3 separate regions of the Homo sapiens genome follow, and regions 1 and 2 are each linked to region 3. The links are contacts of gene promoters, found by promoter capture Hi-C in blood cells and fetal thymus (Javierre and others, 2016). All regions are on one chromosome and are shown on one strand. The core of a region is centred on a gene start or on the middle of the fragment in contact, and the rest is flanking DNA. Distances in the headings are between cores, read along the strand shown.

Region 1 (3,535 bases), core at 215-2,714, 140 kb before region 3:
AAATTAGCTGAATGAAGCAATTTGAGTATACTCTAGCAGTTTGAACTTGAGGGCCAATGCTATATTTGATACGTAAGCATGGGACTGGATTTTCACTTCCTATTTTTGAAGGCATGTCTTGGCAGCACAGGCCCTATGCACTTGGCCCATCCAGTTTTGATCATATTCAGCTGTTCCCATAAACAGAGAAAGCCCCATGGCCTTTCTGGAACAGCCTGTAGTAATAAGACATGACCTTAATATGTGCTACTCTCAGATCACGTCTTTTGAAGAACCTAAGCACATTTATAATCAAAATAGAAAAGGATATCAAACAGGCTTTTCCCCATAGTTAAACTACATATTTATTTCTCTTACTTTACCACATTATCTGTTATACTCCCTGCAATGACTGTTGACCATTAGGGGTAGTAGACAGCATTCTTCTTTTTTCTATTTTAATGAAAATAATTTGTGTTTATTTGAAATGTTTATGATTGATTTGTAGGAAATAAACTTCAACATGTTTGGAAGCTTCTCTTTATCTTAAATGAGTTTTAAAGAATGCAAAAGTGTCTGGTTGAATTTGTAGCTTCAGTTATTATGATCATGTTTTTATTCTCTTTCCATTTCTTAAAATATTAAATCATGTTCTTCCAGTGCTCGAACTATTCTTGAATTCCTAAATTAAATCCTATTTTGTTAAATTGATTATTTAATATATTGTTTGATTTGATTTGCTGGTTAAAAAAATATTTCTGACCTATATTCCTAAGTAAAAGTGATATTCCGCTGGGCATGGTGGCACACACCTGTAATCTCAGCACTCTGGGAGGCCAAGGCAGGAAGATCACTTAGGCCAGGAGATTGAAACCAACCTGGGCAACACAACCAGACTCTGTCTCTACAAAATAAAAAGTGATCTTCAGTTGTCCTGTGTGTGTGTGTTTACTTTTTATTGATTTTTTCCCCAGCTTCATTAAGATATAGTTGACAAATAAAGTTATATATATTCAAGGTATACAATGTGATATTTTGATATATGTATACACTGTGACACCATTAAACCAAGCTAATTAACATATCTATCACTTCACATACTTAGTTTGTGGTGAGAACATTATAAAATCTATTCTCTTAGCAATTTTCAAGTAGACAATACATTATTATTAACTATAGTCACCATGCTGTACAAGAGATCCCCAGAACTTCATCCCTCTGTCTAACTGAAAATTCGTACTCTTTGACCAACATTTCCTCATTCCCATCCCAGCCCCACTCTGCCCCAGCATCTGGCCACCAACATTCTACTCTCCACTTCTATGATTTCAACTTTCTTATATTCTACATATAAGTTAAATTATGCAGTATTTGTCTTTCTGTGCCTGGCCTATTTGACTCAGCATAATGTCCTCCAGGTTCATCCGTGTTGCTGCAAATAACAGGAATTCCTTCTTTTTGCCTTTTTTTTTTTTTTTTTTTTTTTTTTGAGACGGAGTCTCGCTCTGTCGCCCCGGCTGGAGTGCAGTGGCATGATCTCCGCTGACTGCAAGCTCTGCCTCCTGGGTTCATGCCATTCTCCTGCCTCAGCCTCCTAAGTAGCTGGGACTACAGGCGCCTGCCACCACGCCCAGCTAATTTTTGGTATTTTTAGTAGAGATAGGGTTTCACCCGGTGGTCTCTGTCTCCTGACCTCATGATCCGCCCACCTCGGCCTCCCAAAGTGCTGGGATTACAGACGTGAGCCACCGCACCCAGCCAGGAATTCCTTCTTTTTTAAGGCTGAATGGTATTCCATTGCATAGATATATCCCGTTTTCTTTATCCATTTATCTCTTGACAGACACTTAGGTTGATTCCATATCTTGGCTATCATGAATAATGCTCCAATGAACATGGGAATGAAGATATCTCTTTGACATAATGATTTCATTTACTTTGAATATATACCCAGAAATGGAATTGCTGGATCATATGGTAGTTCTATTTTTACTTTTTTGAGGAAGCTCCATACTGTCTTCCATAATGGCTGTGCCAAGTTACAGTCCCACCAACAGTGTGCATGGGTCCTGTCTTCTGCACACCCTTACCCACACTTACTATTTTTTGTCTTTTTGATGATAGCTATACTAACCAGTGTGAGGTGATATCTCTTTGTGGTTTTAATTTACATTTCTGTGATCATTAGTGATGTTGAACATTTTTTCATATACCTGTTGGCCACTTGTAAATGTCTTCTTTTGAGAAATATCTATTCAGGTATTTTGCCTGTTTTAAAATTGAATTATTTATCTTTTTAATATTGAGTTGTTTCAGTTCCTTATATATTTTGGATATTAACCTCTTGTCAGGTATGCAGTTTGTAAATATTTCCTCCCCTTTGGTAGGTTGCCTTTTCACTCTGTTGATTGTTTCCTATTCTGTACAGAAGCTTTTAATTTTGATGCAATCCCATTTCTCTCTTTTCACTATGTTGCCTGTGTATCAAGGGTCATATATGACCAAAATATCATCTCCCAGACCAATGTCTTGGAGCTTTTCCCTTATGTTTTCTTTGAGTAGTTTTATAATTTCAGGACTTACATTTAAGTCTTTATTTCATTTTGAGTTGATTTTTCTTTATGGGTGAGACAAGGGTCTAAGTTCCTTCTTTTGCATGTGGACATCCAGTTTTCCCAGTACCAATTATTGAAGAGACTGTGCTTTCTTGAACGTTGTATGTTCTTGGTACCTTTGTTGAAGATCAACTGAACATAAATGCATAAACTTATTTCTGGGGTCTCTATTATATTCCTTTAGTCTATGCATTTGTTTTTATGCCAGTACTACGCTGTTTTGATTACTATAGCTTTGTAGTATAATTTGAAATCAGGTAGTATGAGACCTCCAGCTTTCTTCCTTTTGCTCAACATTTCTTTGACTATTTGGAGTCTTTTGTGGTTTCATAGGATTCTCTTTCTATTTCTGGGAAAAATGTCATGGAATTTTGATAGGCATTGCATTGAATCTGTAGATTGTTTTGGTGCCAATGATCATTTTAGCAATATTAATTCTTCCAATTCATGTACATGGGGATATCTTTCCATTTATTTGTGTCTTCTTCATCCTTTCATCAGTGTTTTATAGTTTTCAGTGTACAGGTCTTTCATCTCCTTGGTTAAATTTACTCCCAAGTATTTTTTTTTTTTGGATATACTGTAAATGGGATTGTTTTCTTGATCTCTTTTTTGGATAGTCTGTTGTTAGTATATAGGAATACTGCTGATTTTTCTATGTTGATTTTGTATCCTTTAACTATACTAAATTTGTCTATTTTAACAGGTTTTTTTGGTGGAGTCTTTAGGATTTTCTGTATATGTGATCGTATCATCTATAAATAGAGATAATTTTACTTCTTTTTTTTCCAACTTGGATTCCTTTTATTTCTTTTTCTTGCCTAATTGTTCTTGCCGGGACTCCCAGTACTATATTAAACAGAAGTGGTAACAGTGGACATTCTTGCCGGGTTCCTAATCTTAGAAGAAAAGCTTTCAGGTTTTCACCATTAAGGAGGATA
Region 2 (3,728 bases), core at 783-3,282, 230 kb before region 3:
TGGCCTATTTTGCCATTCACAATTACTAGGTTATTTTGGGCCGATACATGTAGTCTCTACTAGGTATAGGTAGATGAGAGTTATAGAGAGGATGACCACATAAGTTTTCATCCCAAAAGAGACATTTTGAGAGTGAAAGAGGGCACTATTAACAATTACAATTATGGGGACAATGGGATAAACTGGGTCTGTTCTGGGCACCAAGCTGTAGGGGCCAAGGGAAAGCTTCCCCTCTGCCTTCAAAAGGTTCACTGAAAATAAACTGACAGCAAGCTGATCATAGAAGAAGACATGTGAAACTTATTTAACCTGCTTAAGCACAGGGGAGTCACATGAGAACAATTTCCCAGTAACCCAGTGAGATCCAGATGCGTACTACTTCATAGAAGAAAGGGAGATGGAGGTGTGGCAATTTTGAGGAGTAGTAAATGATAATTAGTGGGAGTGAATGGACCTGGAGGCAGTAACTTGTAAATGACTCTCTGGAATTTCAATGAGCCCAAGAGGCAAACATTGTCAGGCCTCTGAGACCAAGCTAAGCCATCATATCCCCTGTGACCTGCACATATACATCCAGATGGCCTGAAGCAACTGAAGAATCACAAAAGAAGTGAAAATGGCTGGTTCCTGCCTTAACTGATGACGTTACCTTGTGAAAATCCTTCTGGCTCAGAAGCTCCCCCACTGAGCACCTTGTGACCCCTGCTCCTGCCTGCCAGAGAGCAACCCCTTTGACTCAACACCTTTGACTGTAATTTTCCAAATCCCGTAAAACTGCCCCCGCACCATCTCCCTTCGCTGACTCCTTTTTCGGACTCAGCCCGCCTGCACCCAGGTGAAATAAACAACCTTGTTGCTCACACAAAGCCTGTTTGGTGATCTCTTCACACGGACGCGTGTGACAAACATTATCTTGTGTAAAAGTCTTTCCAGGTGTGGTTTCATTCCTCAGTCTTTTCTGAGATAGAAAATGAGATTTCAGAGAGGGAAGAGGGGGCAGTCCCTCTGGTGAGTCCAGTCTTAAGGTAGATAAAGGACTATCAGAGAAAAACCTTATCCTGTGCTTTAGGAGAAATAGGGCTGGGGTAGAGTCAGTGTGGAGGTGGGAGGTAGAAAGACCTTGAGGCTGCTGCTTTAGTTCAGCATGTCAAAGGGCCATATTTCGGGGTATCATATTCCGAGCCTCATGTGGTAGGAGTTATTAATAAATTATTTCAGGCAGATAGGAAAAGGGGTCCTTGGAAAGTTGTTTCTTTTTTTATTATTATACTTTTAAGTTCTAAGGTACATGTGCACAACGTGCAGGTTTGTTACATAGGCATACATGTATCATGTTGGTTAACTGCACCCATCAACTCACCATTTACATTAGGTATTTCTCCTAATGCTATCCCTCCCCCAGCCACGAAAGTTGTTTCTTTTAAAGCAGCTAAGTTGTTTCTTTTAAAGTAGCTCCAGAAACCTTTCTCATCTAGCAGGAAAGCCCCAGGTCTTACAGCTGGGCTGCCAACCTTTGATATGCAAATACAGTCCATTAGAAACTGGATCCCCCCAAACATGGTGATTCCCACCGTTGTTCTCTTGCCCTTGCTCCCATGTGCCTGGCAATGTGGCCACCCCCACATATCCCCATGTGTGTAGAACATCACGGTGCCCTTCATTTGCATATTAAAAGGCTAGGGTGGGAGGGCCAGTTTTTGTGGGCTACATGAATGACATGCCTGGTCAAACCAATCCCTTGAGCCCTATGCAAATCAGACACTGCCTCCTTCAGCCTCCTCATATAACTGGCTGGTATCCACCGCACTTGGGGGTCTCCTCTCTCGGCTTTGGAGTCCCCCTCCCTCTGTCTCTATACGGGGGAGCTTCTTCCCTCTGTTTTCTCCCTTCTTTCTTGCTTATTAAAGTCTTCACTCCTTAAAAACCACTCCACGTGTGTCTGTCATTTCATCTAATTCGCGTGAGACAAGAGCCCTGGTGTTCCTCCACTCATCAGTGCTGTATCACTAACACTGGGATGTGTATTCACATCCACTACAGCTCTCCTCCTCTCAGGCTGTCTACCCACTAGTATGTTACAATGAGTTTGGCCACATATACAAATACTTCATATTAACAAGGCAATCATATGATTACTTAGATGCTTGGGGAAATTCCAATTCCCTACCTTTTGGCAGAAGGGGTCACTCAATTCGGATATGATGGACAACAAGGAATCAAGGGACAGAACCCTCTGATAGCTTAGTGACCAGAACCAGGACTGAATTTTAGCCTTGGGTGGAGCATGCCACTCCAATGGGTATGTTACAGGAAAAGGGTTCCGATCCAGACTCCAAGAGAGGATTCTTGGATCTCTCCCAAGAAAGAATTCAGGGCAAGTCCACAGTGCAAAGCAAAAGGGAGTTTGTTAGGAAAGTAAAGTGAAAGGACAGCTACTCCATACATAGAGTAGGACGTTCCCGAAAGTAAGAGGAGGAACACATCCATCCTAGGTACAATGCTTGTATATGTGGGGAGATGTGTTCTGCCACAAGGGTTTGTGTTAAAGAATTAATTTTCTTAATTACTATATTTTGCAAGAATCGTTATTATCATCTTTAAAGCAAAATTAGGAATGTCTTTGTTCTCCAGACATCAGGATATCGGGACATTCCCAAGTCTGGGTCTGTTTTAGTAAGCATTATTAATTTGTTCCCTTAACTGTAAATGTCTAGAGGCTAGGAATGCCTGTTTTTTCTGAGAATGCGGCCTAGCCAGTCTCAGCCTCATTTTCCTAAACCTCACTCAAAATGGAGTCTCTCTGGTTCAAGTTCCTCTGACAGGTATGGGCTACTGGCCTAACTAGATTTTTTTTTTTTTTTTTTTAAGACAGGGTCTCACTGTGTCGCCCAGAGTGGAGTGCAGTGCTGTGATCTTGCCTCAATGCAACCTTTGCCTCCTGGGCTCATGAGATCCTCCCACCTCAGCCTCCCAAGTAGCTGGGGCTACAGGTGCATACCACCACGCCTGGCTAATTTTTGCATTTTTAATAGAGACAGGATTTCACCATGTTGGCCATGTTGGTCTCAAACTCCTGGCCTCAATTGATCCACCTGCCTCAGCCTCCCTAAGTGCTGGAATTACAGGCATGAGCCACTGCACCCGGCCCCTAACTAGATTCTTAAGCCACTTCATCCAAGCATGTAGGAGTTTGTACAATATCTCTGGTCAAACACCTAGTTTGAACACCACTCATATCTCCTTAAAGTTATAAATCAAAAATAAAATTCTAAGCCCCCAACCGACTGAACAGACTTTTAGGCTTGGCCAAGGGGATCCCAGAAACTCCTGAAAAACTAAATTCCAGGCCATGACAGGAAGGGAAGTCAAACACACCTTGTTATACCTCCTCTCTTTTGGAGTTCAGACATAGCTGACCAGCATTAACATTAAATTAGAGAACACAAGACTGACAAAACAGCCTCTGGCAATACGGTACCAAATTGCAATCTGACTGGTATAGCATCCCATGACAGCAGACCATGAGGGAAATAAAAACATTTTACATCAAAATATATTTCTTTGACATATTTTTAAATGGCCCTGCAAAGGTGTCTTTTGTAGGGGAAGTTTGCATCCATAGAAAATCTTCATTATTACAGCCAGGCCTTTCTCAGATATAGGAGAGATTAACTAAGAGCCTGACACATTTTAAGGTCTGAAAAGAGACATTTATCATCTGTTCTGTC
Region 3 (3,500 bases), core at 1-2,500:
TGTAAATTCTTTAGCAGATGATGTGAGCCTCTCTCTACCAAGTGAGGGGCAAACGGGAAGATAAAACCAAGTCCTGTGGGAGGGTTCTTTGGCAACTTACCCAGAGGCAAATGGCTCCCAGGTGTCATCAGCAGCCTTTCTGAACACATGCACGGCCACATTGATGGCAGGACTGCCTCGGACAGCATCTAGAACTTTGACCATCAGAGGACACTTGGATTCACCGGTGCCCTGGGTGTAGAGAAGACACGTGAGAAGTTAACAAAATTGATCAGAGTGAAAGGATTTATTCTTTGTGGTATTAGAAATCTGGAGCGAAACAAGAATTACACACTGATCCCATTATCAGGAACGTAAGTGTCGACAATTAATGAGCTTCCCTACTCAGTATAACACAGACGTAATTGTTTCCAAAGCAAGAATGGTTTCTGCCTCCAGACACACTGCTATCAACCAGGGATGTGTATAATGAATTTTAAGGGAGAAAATAGGTCCCCTGAGAACAGTTGCTTTGTTAAAAGTCTCCATTTGAGTGGAATTACTGAAAAGATGTAATGTACCATACATAGGGCCAAACAGGTTTTCCTGAGATCATTTTAGTTGTTGCTATAGTCACTCCCTCTTACCAGTTGTTATAAAATAATGTCAGAACTACATCCAGACCCATTTTATAGTATTAGTTAATTCTTCTAGAGGATTTAAGAATTAGATATCTGACTAGAATATTGTTCACTAAGCCTTTTAAAGATTAATCAATAAATACGTTTTGAATAACTATAGGGCCAGAATATAATCTCCTGCAGTTTGTCCCCCAAATACATTTTATGGAGGGATACTTTTCTGAAAATTCAGTATTAACAGCTTCCTTAATATCATATCTTTATTTCTATCATCTATCTGAGGAAACAGAGGTACCAGATATTACAAACCTAATGCACCAAAGCAATGAGGTAGAATGCTCAGAGTTCAAGTCCCAGCTCAGTAAGCTCAGTGGAACTTCATTCTTTTTGAAGTTTGAATTAATTATATTAAAAATAGATGCTGGGTACCCTTGCCCTAGTAATAAAAGCTGGTTGGCAAAGCTGGAAGGAGTCACTTCTACTTCATTTAGCGTGAATCTTAAATGTAGGAATGGGATGTCACAGAAACACTCACCGTAGGGCCAGCCTCAGACACAAATACCAGTCCAGCAAGGCAGAGGAGGAGCAGACGATGAGAAGCCATCCTGCCAAGAATGAGTGGACTTCTGTGATGGCTGCTCCCAGCCTGGGGCTTTTATACTCACTTCTCCTGAGCTAGGCTGCTTATCCCTGCCAATCTGACTGCAAACCTGCTGATTCTGATTATTGACTTAGTCAACAAAGAGAGAATAAGTAACCCATACAAATATGAACCTTGTCTAGAGAGATTAGAGCATCGGAACATTCGTTCTATGAAATATTCTTAATAGGTCATTTGACCAGTTAGGTCACCAAAACAAAACAACCAAAACAAAACAAAACAATCAAAACAAAACAAAAATAGTCTTCTCCCTGTGTGACTGCGTGCACTAACATTCTTGGGGGTAATTTTTTCCTCCCTCACATATTTCTATGCATGTTTTCCATTTTTATAGATTTTTTGTCTCTCATTTTAGATGCAAGATTTTAGACAGATGCAAGTTGTAATAATGTATTTCATGTTGAATGACATCTAGCTGCACAGGCTTAAATATAGTGCATTAGAAAATGTTTGCACTTGATGGATCCATGGGTCAACAAGGAAAAACCCTTGGCAGTGCTCACATTTTTAAAAGCCTACATTTTAGCCAAACTAAGTCATTTGGAAGCTTTGCTTAGTCAGCAATTTCTCCACAATGTGTGTGTGCATGTGTGTATGTGTGTGTGTGTTCTGCCCAGATAAAGTCCACTTCAATCTAAGAATGGCATCTTCCCTCCCTCCCTTCCTTCCTTCCTTTTTTCCTTCCTTTTTTTTTTTTTTTTTGACAGGGTCTCACTCCAACGCCCTGGCTCGAGTGCAGTGGCACGATCACAGCTCGCTGCAGCCTTGACCTCCCGGGCTCAGGTCATCCTCCCACCTCAGCCTCTTGCCCAGGCTGGTCTCGAACTCCTGAGCTCAAGCAATCCACCCGCTTTGGCCTTCCAAAGTGCTGGGATTACACGTGTGAGCCACTGAGCTGGGCCAGAATGGCATATTTCAACCTGGCATTGATGCCCCTGAAATACAGAGAACCAAATCTTCTTTACTGACTCTTCTGCATTGGGCATGCAGGAACAAGGCTGACAGCTGGTTTTTGACAGAACCAAACTTGCTGGAAGAAAGTAGAGATGACTGTGAGAACCAGAAGCCATGATTGACAGCAGATTCTTTTCCTCCTGGCCGACTTATTAATACAAGTCCAGAAATTATGATGATTTGATGATTCATTACTCACATACAAAGTCTCTGTGTGTATGTGTGTGTGTGTGTGTGTGCGCGCGCACGCGCATGTGTGTGTGTGTCCACTAGCATGCGTGGCTTTGTTCATGGATAAACTAAGGCAGGTTTTTGTCCTTATAAGACAAACATGTAGAAAACATAGAGAAGACAAATATTTTGGACAAATACAAGCCAAGAGCAAGTCCGGTTTGGAGCACTAAGAATTGAGGGAACATTCCCATAACTGATAGAGTCAGATTAGAAAAAATTCAACAAGAAATTGTGAAGCACAGGAGCTTACAGGGAGTAGTGGAAGGGACAGAAAAGCCTTTCAGGAACATGAGAATGTGCAGGAGAGGACTCCGGGAGGTGGGTTGACCCCTCACAGCAATGAGCAAATGTAGTTGAGACCATAACTAGGAATGGAGTCTTAGACCCTTAGAGTTTAACTAGGAAGCAGCAGCAGAAAGACTTTTGCATTTGGAGTTGGATGACCAGAGTCATTCGATCCCAGTTCTGCTGCCCCGTTTCCCGGATGACCTTCTATGAGTTATCTACTATCTCAGATACTCGGCCAACTCGTTTGTAAAATAGAAATGCCTACTTTTCTACTTCAAAGGACTGTTCTAATAACTTTTAATATGAGAGGATGTACAAGCCTTTTGTAAGCTGTAAACCACTATCTTGCTGTAAAAGCATAACTAATAGAATTTGGTTCAACATCTATGCCTCAGGAGAGAATCCTTTCTCAAATAACATCTTTCATATATTGTCATCCAATATCCTCTTGATGATTTCCTATTGTTCAGAACCTGGATAGAGAGCCTTTTCTCTGGCTATGAATCATAAATATTTGGAAGTTCTTTCATAACCGAAGCAAAATCTACTGTGCACGCGTTTCAGCACTGCACCCTGTTGAAACTAAGAATCATCTCTTGTAGACCCTGTGAACTGGCAACGCTGGGCTGCCATCAGCCCATAGATATGTTATATTTGGGCTGCACAGAGTCTCTTTAAACATTTTGTAATAGTTGCCAAAATTAAAAATTGAGACATGCTGCATAAAAATTTGCATTTCTTGC

What was found. Contacts are between HindIII fragments. The CHiCAGO score rates a contact against its expected background, and 5 or more counts as called.
Region 1: a contact is called between a fragment that was not itself captured here and the fragment with the promoter of TTR in region 3, in 3 of 17 cell types (megakaryocytes, fetal thymus and M1 macrophages). The highest score is 7.5, in megakaryocytes.
Region 2: a fragment that was not itself captured here is called in contact with the fragment with the promoter of TTR in region 3 in 1 of 17 cell types (M1 macrophages); the score reaches 5.4 in M1 macrophages.

Annotation. Positions count from the first base shown.
Region 1 is chr18:31,733,417-31,736,951 of GRCh38, reverse strand. No RefSeq gene overlaps it. Among named protein-coding and RNA genes, the nearest start is that of SLC25A52, 26 kb to the left of the region's middle. The HindIII fragment of the contact is 1,897 bases long and covers 516-2,412 here.
Region 2 is chr18:31,823,845-31,827,572 of GRCh38, reverse strand. No RefSeq gene overlaps it. Among named protein-coding and RNA genes, the nearest start is that of SLC25A52, 65 kb to the right of the region's middle. RefSeq lists enhancers at 168-713, 714-1,259, 1,260-1,805. The HindIII fragment of the contact is 3,609 bases long and covers 228-3,728 here.
Region 3 is chr18:31,589,627-31,593,126 of GRCh38, reverse strand. It overlaps TTR (transthyretin), which reads right to left and starts at 1,250. Exons shown (of 4, transcript NM_000371.4): 1 at 1,156-1,250; 2 at 101-231. The coding sequence starts at 1,224. The HindIII fragment of the contact is 4,728 bases long and covers 1-1,830 here.